Regions from separate parts of the Homo sapiens genome. Here region 2 is linked to region 1. The links are contacts of gene promoters, found by promoter capture Hi-C in blood cells and fetal thymus (Javierre and others, 2016). All regions are on one chromosome and are shown on one strand. The core of a region is centred on a gene start or on the middle of the fragment in contact, and the rest is flanking DNA. Distances in the headings are between cores, read along the strand shown.

Region 1 (6,948 bases), core at 2,644-5,143:
AGCAGTGCACATTCAAGTTGTGGTGGTCAGATAAAGCTGCTGCATTGCTCATTTCCTGAGCCCTCTACATTCCTCCTCACCTGTTTTAGATAGCTGTCTCTGAGGTCTGAAATAGTTAAGAGCAAGTATTTGGGATTCCCTTCTTCTCTACCCAGGTACCATGCCCAGAGTCCCCATCCTCTCCCTTTGCTGTCCCCTGCCAGGTGACCAGTGTGTTTCTGCTGGCTCCCAGTGGCCTGAGATCTCTCACTGCAATATTCTACCAGTACAGTGCTCTCCTCAAAAGAACCTCTGAATCCCACTGTTTTGGAGACCTAGAGAGGCCAGCCTTTCCTATTTGGTAATATCTAAGCTAAATACAATAAAGCCATGCCAATTAAGGGAGAAGAATGGTGTAGATGGGGGGCTGGCAAACTTTTTCTGTAAAGTTCTGGCAAGTAAATATTTTGGCTTTTTGGGGCTACACTGTCTTTGTTGTAACTAATCAACTCTGCTGCCCTGGTGTGAAAGCAGCCACAGATAGTCTATAAATGAGTGAGCATGGCTGTGTTCAAATAAAACATTATTTATAAAAACAGAGGGCAAGCTAGGATTGCCCTGTGGGGCTGTAGTTTGCTAACTCTAAGCGTAAAAGAAAGAACATGAGGCAGGAACAAAGAACCTGGCCCCTAGACACAGCCCTGACCTTAACCAGCTGCAAGACTTGGCACAAGTCACCTTACTCCTTCCTTTTCCACCTCCCACGTTCCCAAAGGGAGCAAGGTATAAAGAGGATAATATATGAAACCCACCATGCATCTTACGTTTCCAGTTGTCTTGCTCATCTGTGGCCCATAGTGCAAAGGTCATGGGATTAGTTTGGACAATAACACTATCATTTTAAGCAGCTGCTTTGAGATAACATATGTAATCTCTCTGCTTTCATCTTCACAACTCATTGAGGTAGATAATGTGGTCCCTCTTTAAGAGGTGAGGAAACAGGCTGGGCGTGGTGGCTCACACCTGCAATCCCAGCACTTTGGGAGGCCAAGGTGGGTGGACCACTTGAGGCCAGGAGTTTGAGACAAGTCTGGCCAACATAGTGAAACCCTGTCTCTACTAAAAATACAACAACAAAAAAATTAGCCTGGAGTGTTGGTGCATGCCTGTAGTCCCAACTACTCGAGAGGTTGAGGCATGAGAATTGCTTGAACTCTGGAGGTGGAGGTTGTAGTGAGCCAAGATTGCACCACTGCACTCCAGCCTGGGTGACAGAGTGAGACTCTATCTCAAGGAAAAAAAAAAAAAAAAAGAGTGAGAGAGAGATGAGGAAATGGAGAAGAGGGAAGTTAAATAACTTGCCCAAATTACACAATAGGTCAGCCTCAAGATCAGGATTCAAATCCAGGCCTATCCAACCACATCCAAGTTTCCCAGACACCATGTGACTTCCCACGTAGGCTGCTTAGTTTCCAAGCCCTTCACTCTAACCAACCACTTTGCAGATATCATCTATAGAACACTATCCTCTGCGCATTTGCTGGAGTGATCAGATATAATTATTTCTATGTAAAAATTTATCCAATGGCTTCCCATTGGTCCCTATCATGACCTACAAGGCCCCTGTGATCTGTGTCATCTCACTCCAACCTTCTGACCTCTCCTCTCTGCTTCACTCTGTTTCTGCCCCAGGCACCTTGCTTTGCCTTAAGACATGCCAAGCTGACTCCCCAAATCAAGAGCCTCATACTTACGGGGGTCCTCAGACTCAAGCCAGTGCTATTCTCCCACTGTAAGCACAGCTTATTCCTTCACTTAATTGGTGCCTCAGCTTAACTGTCACCTCCTCAAAGAGAACCTTCCTGACCACGCTATCCAGAAAAAAGGAAAGTTATTGGCTTTCAATAATTACCTGTTGATTGTCGAATAAATGAAAGACTATATTGGAATGAAGAGACAGAGCGTGGCTGGCTTAGGACCAGCTGCTTGGCACATTCCAAGGGCAGAGATTCAGACCTCTCAGCAGTGAGAAGCCTTGTCTCATGGAAGAAAGGTAGCTTGCTTGCCTATATCAGAACAAATGACAGTACTGCTTTGTGTCATCTTCAAAAGTACCTAATACAGGAGAGGTGACACAAAACTGGGAGAGATAAGTCTCATGACTCTGAATAAATGTCAGAGTTACAAGGGACCTGAGGAGTCCTCTAAGGTCCAGCATTTTCCAGCTTCCAGTCTCTGAGCCACTTTTTGCTCTACTTCCTCCTCTGTCTGCCATGTTCCTTTTTGCAGCAGCTGTTCTTGACCAGACGGGCCTCCCTCTCCCAAACCCTCCTATCCCCCAGGGTTGAGGGGGGCATGAAGGCTTTAGATAACTACTTTTGTTGGGAAAACACTGTTCTCGTTTAAACTCTGTCACTTCATGGATGAAGAAACTGAGTGTTAGAGAACTGAAATAGTATGGTCGAAGTTCTGCCACTAATTAGTGTCAGACCTGAGCCTAGAGCCTAAGTCTTCTGACCACAAGACTAGTCCTAGCTCTACACTTCATGGAACAAATGGTAATCATACCCCACACTGTTCATTCAATTCAATTCTACAACCATGAATGGAGCCCCCCAAATGTACCTGGCCCCTAACTGGTTAGAATCAGGGGCAAAATATTGAAAACTGTATAGTTCCTGTCCCCAAAGGGTTTACTGAAAGTTTGAATACATAGTAAAAGGAATAAGTTTTTTTTTTTTTTTTTGGTGTTGGCATATTGGTTAATAGGTTAATGCAGTAGCCAGTTTAAACTCAGCAAGTACTTCAAGATACCTTCTCAGAGGTTCCATAAGCAGTTATGCTTAGGCCTCACTCTGGATGTGATTTTATAAGGAAGGAAGGAAAAAGAAAGAAAGGAAGGAAAAGAGAGAAAAGGAAAGGAAAACTGAACGGTGCTCTGGCCTCCTCCTTTCATGCCTTACTTGCACTTATCTCTGGTTTTTTCAAAGGTCTTAAGCTTCAGGTTCATTCCTGAAAAGCTTTTTGGTAAGGTCCTCACCTACTCTGAACTCCTGAGGGGAAGTGAAGTAGCTGAATAAGTTCCTCCTATTAGTATCCCCTACCAGGACCTCAGCCAGGACTTCAATAATAACCTTCTGAATTATTGTAGAAACCTGTGATTAGTATTAACCAAGTCAATAACAGGCATTTCCTCCATCAACCAAAGGCACATTTGAGGTCTTCTGGACCAATCTGGGTCAGTAACAGGGATTCCGATACCACCGACACAACCCACAGGGTTAGTATGTGTCAATCAGTTCTGTCCTGCCTAGCCCTGGCTCAGCTCTTCAGAGATGACCTCTTACAAAAAAAAAATCCACTTCCAACTTTAGAAAAAATTTTACTTCTCCATCATCATGACAATAAAGTCCATAAAAAGTGAGAGAGAGAGAAGGAGAGAATCCATGTGGGAGACAGTGAGAGCGTGTGAACAGTCAGAAATCATGAGCAAGAGTTGGCATTAACATGGAGACAAGTAATCCCTGGTTTCCTTGCTTTATATAAATAAAATGATAAGGATAAAAGAGAAAACAGACCATAAAGTAAAAACTTGTCTCTAGAAGCCTCTCTCCTTTAATCTCCCCATTCTCCCACCTCCCAAAAGACAAAGACACACATTACAGACCCAAACTACTTCAGATCAACATTTGCCTGTTTACAGAAATGAAACCAGCTTTCCCTCTGCCTGACCATGGATGCTCACCAGCTAACGCCCGAATTCACTCGCCCACTCAACTCACATTTTCCTGCCTGTTGAATGCAAAACAATGGCCTCCAAACACCAATTACCGATATTTAGAACTATTGTTTTCCTACCCTGGTTAGAGACGCCTCCATGAGAGACACAGGACTGAGCTCTTGAGTTGAAAGAGGACCTGGGGGGTGGAGGGAAACCCCTTTGCGAATGTCCACACGGTCCCGTTGCCAAGGGAACCCTGGCTTTATCCAGGGAGACTGAGCATGGCTGCCTCTCCCACGGCTTGGCTCCAGGAGTGTCCAGATTACAGTGCAGGGTCAAGAGGAGAGGCAGGGGAAGTGCCACACAGGCTTGGTGACAAAGAAATCGTTTTCAAAGAATGAAAGAAATGGTGAAAAATATCTTAGGAGGTGCCCGGTGGGGAGGGAATAAGTTGATTGATAATGCTGCGATCAGATTTGAGTTGGTCTTTGTGCCCCTGAAAGGGGTGGGATTCGAAAGTATATCTGAAAGGAGACAGGGTGGGAAGGAAAGAGAGAGTGAGACTGAGAGAGGAAAGGTTGAAAGGGGTGGGTTTTAGCCTCCTTCTGCGGATGCTGAATACTAATCAGGTAAACAATTATTTCATTAAGATGCTCAGTTGAAGCTTTGGAATGGATTATTTTGGCTACTGGATTGGTTGGAGGAGCTGTCTGGCTGTTTCCTAGAAGTCTGGTGGGAACTGGAGGGGAGATGATAATATAATCTTGATAGTCAAGCAAGTTTTTATTTGGCCTGCACTTTAAGGGCTGAGGCTGGCCTTTCTTTTCAGAGTGAAATCTCTTGGGAAGTGTGCCAAAGGAGGCACATTATGTGCATGCTTATTTTGAAAACCCATTTGTCAAAGGAGGAGTATGTTGAGCAGTGGTTTGGAGAGTTTGATTGGACCCTGATTCCTCACCTAGTGCCTGGCACAGTGTAGATGTTCAATAAAACATTTGCCACCTGAATGGTTGCTGAAGGAAAACTTGTTTCCAGCAACTTGCCTGTCCAGCAAGGATGAGTACTTTGAAGCAGTTGAGGCTCAGCAGATGTGGCTTACCTATTGACCCACAGATGAATGGGAACAAAATAGAGGACTTGAGCCCAGAGCCCCATTACCCTTGATCATGAATGTCTAATTGCTTTTTTAAAAATAGAGAATTCAAGGGAACTCTCTATCTAAATGTTGCTGCTACTATACAATAGGAAAAAAAAAGACAAGTAAATGAAAAGAAGTAATAATAGGTATCTCTGCAGGTGATCTGGGCTTAACATGGAGTGAGGATATTCGTACTGAGTTACAGTGAGGCACTCAGAAAAATTAAACACACACACACACACACACACACACACACACACACACACATATATATATATATATATTTCCCTGCAAGATGGTGAGCTTCTTATATTACTCATCTTCCAAGGCTTAGCTCTGGCATCAGTTACCCCAGGAACTTTCCATTACTATCCCCAACCTCAGCTTCCATAGTACTTTTTACAGTTTTTCCTCAGAATGCTTATCAAATGGATTTAGTTGTTGCTGCATGTGTACATAATCACAGGAATGGCCCTCTACCAGAATGGAATCTCCTTGATGGAAGGCACCATGCTTCATTCCTTTTCTTTAAAAAAAACTCTTTAATACTTAGTAAAACGCTTGTTACATAGGAAGTGCATGATACATATACTCAAGAATTGAACAGCAATGAGTCAATTTGTGAGTGTTTTGTTGAGTGTCAGCTGCATTAAGCTCAAGGGAAGATTCAAGTCAAGGTGAAGGTATAGTATCTGCCCGCTTCAAAAAGTTTAAAATCTATGTAAGATGAAGGTGACTTGGTCTTTAATGTTACTTAGGCTTACTGCAGTAAGTGTAGCTGAGAGTAACGGAAGTAATGCTTTTATTTAATGGATAAAAACCAGCTCTCTCAGTGGTGCTGTTGGTCAGATTGTGGCTATGAAACCCCAGAAACTCAGAGTTGCAAAAAGGCCCAGTTAGGCTTGCATGGTACGTGCTTATTTCTTCTTTTCAATACCCTTGGCTTTGTCAGCCCATCTACTCTAAAGAGGCCCCATTTAAGGGCGTGTTTCCTAGTAGTAGACAGGCTGGAAATAGCCCCAACCCAGCACTTTCTCCACTCTACCATGCTGCTTATTTTATAAAAAGACTAATCTAAATCCAACAAAACCTACTACCAAAAAATGCACAAATTACAACTGGCACATAGCCACAAACCCAGCATTTTAGACATTCATATCATTTGGGAATATCTGGACCCAGATTCCCTTCTTATTTTCTTCAGGGGATGATGACACAATACAAACTTTGCATGGCTGACAGCACTAACCAGGGGAAGATTCCAACCAAAGGGAGCAGGTCCTGTCCTCACTGCACCTTCATGATGAAAACAGCAGGTAGAGGGTGTTAGGTGCCAAAGTGAGTAATAGAGGACCAATGCTATAAGGTCATAAGGAGGTCACAGATGAAGACTGAGGACCAGAGAGGTGGCTGCACACTGAGTGAGCAGAGATGGGACTACACTCTTAGCCTGGAAACACTCAGCCACAACTTCCCTAGTGGGCTCCCCATGTCAGGTCCTTGTCCCTCCATCCTGCCTCTCACTCTGTCCCCAGAGTGAGCTCTCCAGGCTGATCATTCCACCTGGTCAGGTCACTCTATTCACTTCCCCGGTGTCCCAAATCCTTTCCCAAATAATCAACTAATTACTTCATCACATTCTTTCTCTTGCACTTTCCTTTGCCAATATTGACTCAAGTGACAGCAATGTCACTGATATCTCCCTGAGTCAGCTCTCAAGGTCACTCTGCTTGGGCTAGGGAGTGATAAGCGAGACATCATGGAATGAGAGTCTTGGTGGAAGGAGGCTAACCTGGGGTTATGTTACACTACAGTGGCAGGAAGGGACGATATTTTGGTGCTCGGCATTCATCATAAGGTGCTGAGCATTTTGGGAAGAGAATGTGATGAGCAGAAGAATGCCTAAAGGAAAGGGAAAGGAATTAGAATTCAGTTGTATCTACTACCCAAGTGCATTTATAACTTGTGGGCACCAACTAGCTTCTGCTTAAACCAATACCATTACCACACATTGGGATCTCAAAGTTAAATGCCTACAGAGGCCAGCTAAGTGAGACAAATGAGGGCAGTGGGCTTTGTGTCAGGTAATAAAGAGTGGTGGAGACTGTGG
Region 2 (7,123 bases), core at 3,841-6,340, 560 kb before region 1:
TTCTAAGCAACCCCTCTCTACCAGCCCCTCTTATTCCCTGGGGATTCCATGCTCTGCTGCTGCCAAGATCCAGATCAACATCAAAACAGTTTGGGGTCAGTTTGTGCTTATAACTAAGACTTCATCCAACGAACACTTAGTGAGCTCCCCCTCTGTAATGAGTACTTTTTTGTGAGCTTTTCAGGGTAACATGCTGAAGAAGGCAGAGTCTTTTAAGTTGGACAAAGTCCAGTTTGAATTCTGGTTCGGCTACTCAACAACAGGACAATGGGCCAAGCAACTTAACATTCCTGGGCTGCGTCCCCCTCATTTCTCAAGTTGGGGAAATAAAGCCAATTTCCTAGGATATATGTTGAGGATTAAATGTGAAAGGACCGGCCTGGCCCGGTGGATCATGCCTGTAATCCCAGCACTTTGGCAGGCCGAGGCAGGCGGATCACGAGGTCAGGAGACCGAGACCATCCTGGCTAACACGTTGAAACCCCGTCTTTACTGAAAAATACAAAAAGTTAGCCAGGCATGGTGGCGGGATCTTGTAGTCCCAGCTACCTGGGAGGCTAAGGCAGGAGAACGGGGTGAACCCGGGAGGCGGAGCTTGCAGCCAAGATCGCGCCACTGCACTCTAGCCTAGGCGACAGAGCGAGACTCCGTCTCAAAAAAAAAAAAAATGTAGAAGGGCCTTGCACAGAGCTGGGGTCTCACTTCTCTACAGTTCAATTTGACAGACCTATCTCCATCGGCCACCAGCTTCTCCTCTATCTCCTTATAGGCCCATCCGCCCACACGTGCTCTGGACCCAGCCCCATATGACCTCTCAGGCCCTCTCTCTACTATTATCTCCTCTTTTGCTGTGTTGTTCTTTTGCTTTCTCTAATAGATCATCCCAGCCAGTGCTCTAACAACTGCTGAATTTTTTGAACTTTTTAAAGGGGTGAAAAACAGCTTTTGACCCCTTCCATCCCTATCTAGCTACTACCCTTCTTTTACTCCCTACCCATGCCAGACTCAAGCTGCTACACAGAACTGCCCACACATCTGCCCCTGTACCCACCCAGTCTAATCTAGCATCCACTCTGCCACTCCATGAGGCTGCTCTTTCCGAGGTCATCAACAACTGCCGTGATGCCAAATACAGTGGCTCCTTCTCTCTCTGTCTTTTTAAAAGTAGAGAAAGTGGTCTTGCTATGTTGTCCAGGCTGGCTCTCAAACGCCTGGGCTGAAGCCTCCTAAAGTGCTGGGATTACAGGCGTCAGCCAACATACCCATCCAATAGCTTCTTATTTGTCTTCATCTTACTTAACGTGGAAGTAGCTATAGACCCTGTGGCCCATTGCCTCCTTTTTGAAACATGAGTTTCTCCTGGTTTTCCTTATCTCTTTGGCTTCTCCTCGATCTCTTTTGCCAGTTCTTGTTTCTCTACTTGCTTTCTAAATGTTGAAGTCTTTAATCCTGATCCCACTTCTATTCTCTCTCTATAATTTCTCCCCAAGTAATTTTGTTCATTCCCATGACTTGACATGAAATCTATGTGCTCTCACTCTTAGACGTATTGCTCCTAAATGTACATTTCTTTGGAATTCCACATTTGCATCTCTAAAGTTGATTCTTGGTCTTGCTTGACATCTGTGCCTCCTTCAGTCTCTCCCCAGGTTAAATGTGATCTTCATCCTCCCTCTCCCTTATCTCTGGTATCTGTTCTGTCACCATATTCATTGATTATATCTGCAGGTGTATCTCCAGTGTCCCTGCACTAGCCCTGGCCACCTCCCTATTTATAATCACTTCACTTCTGATGCCCCCAGTTCTATTCTTATGGTAATCAGCAGAGTGATCTTCTGAAAATGTAAATTAAGTCACGTGTGAAAGTATACCTTGTCAGGAAACACGTCACTGGTTTCCCACTGACTGAGAGTAAAGTGCTCATTTCCTCGAGCCTTAGGGCCCAGGTGCAGCCGACTTCTACCTGCCTCTCCAGCCCTAGCTGGAGGGTCCTTTCTCTCTTGTTCACTGCAAGGCAGCCACACTGGCCCTCTCCCTCCAGTTCCTGATGGCTCAGTGTTCTTGGCTGCCTCAGGACCTTGGCATCCATTCCTACAGCTCCTCATTTCATTCCTACACATCCTTTCGGTCTCAGCTTAAATTTCACTACCCCCAAAATATTAACAATTCCATTGCCTCTCTTTATTCCTTTTATTTTCTCCATTAATACTACCCATTTTCTTCATAACGCCCATCACAGTGGTGATTATAGCAACATTTGTGTCTTACTTTCATGGCTTGTCTCTCGACCAGGTCTTTTTGGTTCACAGCTGCAGCTTCAGTCCTGGCTCATGGTAGATGCTCAAGAAATAATTATTGTTGTACAATAGCTAATGGTTAATGAGCTCTTGCTCTGTACCAGGCAGCCTTCTAAGTACTTTATGTTATTTAATCTTCACAAAAGCCCTAGTCTACACTTTACAGAAAAAGAAATGGAGGCACTGAGAGTCGAAGTGACTTATCCAAGCCCACCCAGCCAGGAAGTGATACAACTTGGATGTGAAATCCAGGCCCTAAGCCCTTAATTGCCTTGCTCGGCTGCCACTGAAGAGTGAATGAACACAGTAGGCTCTCAGGAAATGAAGCTGCCTGGGTGGTAGTTTCCACTCACTTCTCTTGGAACTGATCAGCAAGGGCACCTAGAACCTGTGGGCCCCTCTTCTACCATAGCACCCTTATAACATGGCCCTCCATCCCAGCCTCCTCCAGCTGGTAGGGCAGAAGGACACTGGAGCCTCAGGTAGTTTGGGGGTTGAGGGAGGACAGTGGTGTAGACACTTGGGGAAGCTGTCCCAGGCCATTGGTGAGAAGTTCACCTTGGAGAGAGGATTCACAACCGAGGGGGTTGGGGATGGAGGTGTCGCCCGTGCCAGGGCAACATAAGTAGGGAGTGGGCTTGCCTGGGCATGTTCTGGGTGATGTGATTCAGGCCTTGCACATCTGCAACCCCAGGGAAAAGGGACCAGAGTGGAGGATAAGCAGGCTTAAAAAATGGCATTGAATTTTAAAAATTGCATTTCCTGAATCCCAAAGCAGAGGAAGCACCTCAGAAGACACAAAGGATGAGTGTGGAGAAGGCACTTGGTGGACACTGCTCCGTCTCTACTCTAAGTCTTTCTTTGCTCAGGCTGTTCACTTTGCCTCAAGCTCCCCTAACCAACACCCCTGCAGTCCCAGACCACACATCATGTTCTCTCTGCATCTTTCCCTTACCCGGGTTGACCACAACCTCTTTGGGCAAGGGATTGGGTTTTACTCATCCTTGAATCTCCAGGTCCTCCCATTGTGCTCCACGCTTGGTAGGTTCTTTCCTGTGTTTGTTGAAATGTTCGATCCATCAGACTCCCCCAGGATGAATTGGCTACTTTCTCCTCTGTGCTATCTTTCTAAACAGTACACATTTCTGTCAGAGTACCTGGCCTGTCGCAATTCAATATTTCTTTCTCTCTCTCTCTCTCTCTTTCTTTCTTTCTTTTTTTTTTTTTTTTTTTGAGACAGAGTTTCACTCTTGTTGCCCAGGCTGGAGTGCAATGGCGCAATCTCTGCTCACCACAACCTCGGTCTCCCGGGTTCAAGCGATTCTCCTACCTCAGCCTCCCGAGTAGCTGGGATTACAGGCATGCGCCACCACGCCCAGCTAATTTTTTGTATTTTTATTGGAGACGGGGTTTCTCCATGGTGATCAGGCTGGTCTCAACTCCCAACCTCAGGTGATCCGCCCACCTTGGCCTCTCAAAGTACTGGAATTACAGGTGCGAGCCACTGCGCCTGGTCAGCAATTAAGTATTTCTTTATTATTCTGCTGTCTCGGTTAGAATGCAAGCTCCTTGGGGACAGGAGCCATGTCAAAACCATCCTTGTATCTCAAATGTTCAGTGCTTTTGTTAGATGAATGAATGAATGGGTGATCTCCTTCTTTGCCAGTGCCCGAGAACCCTAGCTTCTCACAGGTGCTCCCCAAGCAGGTCTGACCCTGAAGCAGTGGCCCCAGAGGCAGAGGGTGGCTTCAGAGGTAGGGAGCTGGGCCCAGGAGAGGGCTCGCTACTGAGTGTTTCTTCTTGAAAACTTGCCCCAAACACACAAGACATAATGTTGTCTAAAGATTAGGTAAAGCTTTTAGGGATCAGACACATGCAGTTGCTTCCTAAACATAAAAAATTGCCATGAGTGTTCACTAGATGCCTGCCACTAGACCTAGATTTATTTCATTTTTGATACTTACAAATAAAGTATCATTGTTTTCATTATACAAATAAAGAAATGGAAGCTCAGAGAAGTGAAATGTCTTACCTAAGGTGGATGGAACCCAGTGTTCAGTTTCTTGGACACTACCAGGTTTTCTTCTCTTAGGGAAGAAAATAGGTCAGGTTATGCTTCCTTCCTGACTGTGGGGCCTCTTTCAACCAGGTTCCTCTTTATGGGACAGTCTTTTTTTGTGTGTGTGACGCCAGCCTCCCTAGGACCAGACTAGGTCTGAAGCCCCGGGCGAGATTTGCCAGATCTTATACTGACCACCAGGTGGTGCTGTTGGCCCAACGTATAGTCTTACAGCATCGGCCTGGGAAACGCTAGACTTGATCAGGAAAAAAGCTTGCCCTGTTGAAATAAGAGCTACCAGTCCTTGAGTCCTGCCATCTGTCTAAACTGTGTTTCCACAAGTCACCTCATTTGGGCTCTAAACAGCCCAAGAAAGTTGTCATCTCCATTCAACTGAGGGCTCAGAGAATTTATTATAAATAATTGGAGCTAGGTTCTCAGTTACAGGTTGAAGAGCCAGGGACTTGAAGCCAGGTCTGCTTGATTCCAAATCTTCAGATTCTTGGGGTTCAAAGGAAGTGAGGCCTCGCCTGTGAGTTGCACAGCTCCCTTCCAGCCTCTACCTTACCTGGACTGGGTGGGGATAGATTGTCTGGAAAATGCCTGTGCAATGACAGGCCCCTGGGCCAAGTTTTAAAGAACTCGGGTTTGCCAGGGTCCTGTGAGGGATGTGGGCCCCTCTATGCTACCGTAGGGCACTGTACCATTTCTTTTCTTGAGAGATGACATTATGCATTGACCTTTACCCACCTCAGCGATTCTCTAGGTGGAAACAGTATGCTCACCTTATAGTTATGGGATAATTCATGTGGCCCCTCTGGTAAATATCACCTGCATCTTCTTGTTTCTGGACTTATAAGTCATCTTTTCATTTTCCTCATTTTTCAAGCATGTTTTGGCCTGGATTGACTGTTGTCATTGCATAAATGGAAATTTAAAAAATCAATATTTTTTGGCCCTGTGTAAGACAATGGGAGATATAGGAAAGGCATTACCATTTAGTAGAATGAGAGTATAACACAGCATTAACAAAGTGAGTGCCCAGCCATTGACATCCTGGGAGACAATATGAGGCTGTTCTTGTGTTGCTATAAAGAAGTATCTGTGACTGGGTAATTTATGAAGAAAAGAGTTTTAATTGGCTCCCAGTTCCACAGGCTTTACAGGAGGCATGGGAATGCCTTAGGAAGCTTACAGTCATGGCGGAAGACGAAGAGGGAGCAGGTATTTCACATGGTGAAAGCAGGAGCCAGAGAGTGAGAGTGCGGGGAAGGAGGTGTCGCACGCTTTTAAATGACTGGACTCTCCTGTGAACTCGGAGAGGAGCACACTTAGCACCAAAGGGATGGCCTAAACCATGCATGAGGGATCCACCGCTATGATCCAAACACCTCCCACCAGGCTCTACTTCCAACATTGGGGATTACATTTCAACATGATATTTGGGTGGGGACAAATATCCAAATTATAGCAGAAACTGATGGGAATGTGGCCCAGGCATGGTCCCACTGGCCATGATGAAAGCTTTGGTGTATGGTCTAGGATGTGCTAGGGAAGGTGAGTGGGTTGTTTCTAATTCCCAAAACAGCCTGTGAGAAAGGTGTTATTGTCCTCATTTTATAGATGAGGAGGGAACACCCAGTATCCTTGTTCAGAGTATGGGATCTGGAGTTGGGTACCTAGATTTAAACCTACCTCTTCCACTGATTGACAGGCTGAGGTCTGCCTGGCCCATCTCTGTACTTGTAGGTGCTCCAAGGTGCCTCCTACTTCTGCAGCCATCAGCCTCGGACCCTCAGGAGCCCCAAGGGGGTTACTTAGAAGGGGAGGTCCAGGCAAGAGAGGGGTCAGCCTGGCGAAGATCAGACTTGAGCTGAGTGTTTTCAGGTGCCCTCAGGGCGGCCTTTGGGATCTGGGACTTTTGACTGCCTGTTTTGCATCCTACACATTTCCCACCTCCTGTGGCCCCTGGATTCTTAGCCTTCCTATGTCTCTTTGCCCAGACTGGTAATTCCCATCTTCTTTTCCCAACTACCTGGAATCCCTACGACTTCTTGCTCTTTATACTCTTCCCTGCAACCTCAAAAAAGGGGCTGGGTATGGTAGCTCATGCCTGTAATCCTAGCACTTTGGGAGGCCGAGGCGAGAGGATCACTTGAGGCCAAGAGTTCAAGACCAACCTGGGCAACATGGTGGGATGTCATCTGTATGAAACATGAAAACAATAACCTGGTGTGGTGATGCATGCTTGTGGTCCCAGCTACTTGGGAGGCTGAGGCAGGAGGATCGCTCGATTCCAGGAGTTTGAGGCTGCAGTGAGCTATAATTGTGCCCCTGCACTCCAGCCTCGGTGACAGAGCAAGAGCTTGTCCCCCCATAAATGGAAAAAAGAGTCACTTGAGGTTGTCCTGCCCATCCTGTGGCCTCTTTGCGGGTCTGACCCTTCTGCTGGGACTTCATGAAGATGCTCTTCCTTCTCTTCCCTCAACTCCCCATATTCTCTTTGTCTAAATAATCAAATAGAAAATATCTGAAAAGAATCAAATGTTTGCTTGATTTTTCGGAAGAAAGTGGACCCCAGGTTTTTTCCAAGGGGACTCCTGGATGCTCCAGGCCTTTTGGCCAAGATGAACACTGCCTCCTAGTTGGGAATCTTTCTCAAATTCACTCCCTTTAGAGCTGGCTCCTCTCCTCAAAACTCCAGGCATCCCATCTTGTCCCCAAATGTCAGGACCAGGCTACACAGGAATCTGAGCAAGGAAGAGGC

What was found. The method cuts DNA at HindIII sites, captures the fragments that hold promoters and counts their contacts. A CHiCAGO score of 5 or more calls a contact.
Region 2: a contact is called between a fragment that was not itself captured here and the fragment with the promoter of ANKFN1 in region 1, in 1 of 17 cell types (M0 macrophages). The highest score is 6.3, in M0 macrophages.

What each region holds. Positions count from the first base shown.
Region 1 is chr17:56,150,420-56,157,367 of GRCh38, reverse strand. ANKFN1 (ankyrin repeat and fibronectin type III domain containing 1) reads right to left here and starts at 3,893. Exons shown (of 21, transcript NM_001370326.1): 1 at 3,838-3,893. RefSeq lists a silencer at 134-340. The HindIII fragment of the contact is 1,365 bases long and covers 3,002-4,366 here.
Region 2 is chr17:56,713,502-56,720,624 of GRCh38, reverse strand. No RefSeq gene overlaps it. Among named protein-coding and RNA genes, the nearest start is that of C17orf67, 120 kb to the left of the region's middle. The HindIII fragment of the contact is 917 bases long and covers 4,632-5,548 here.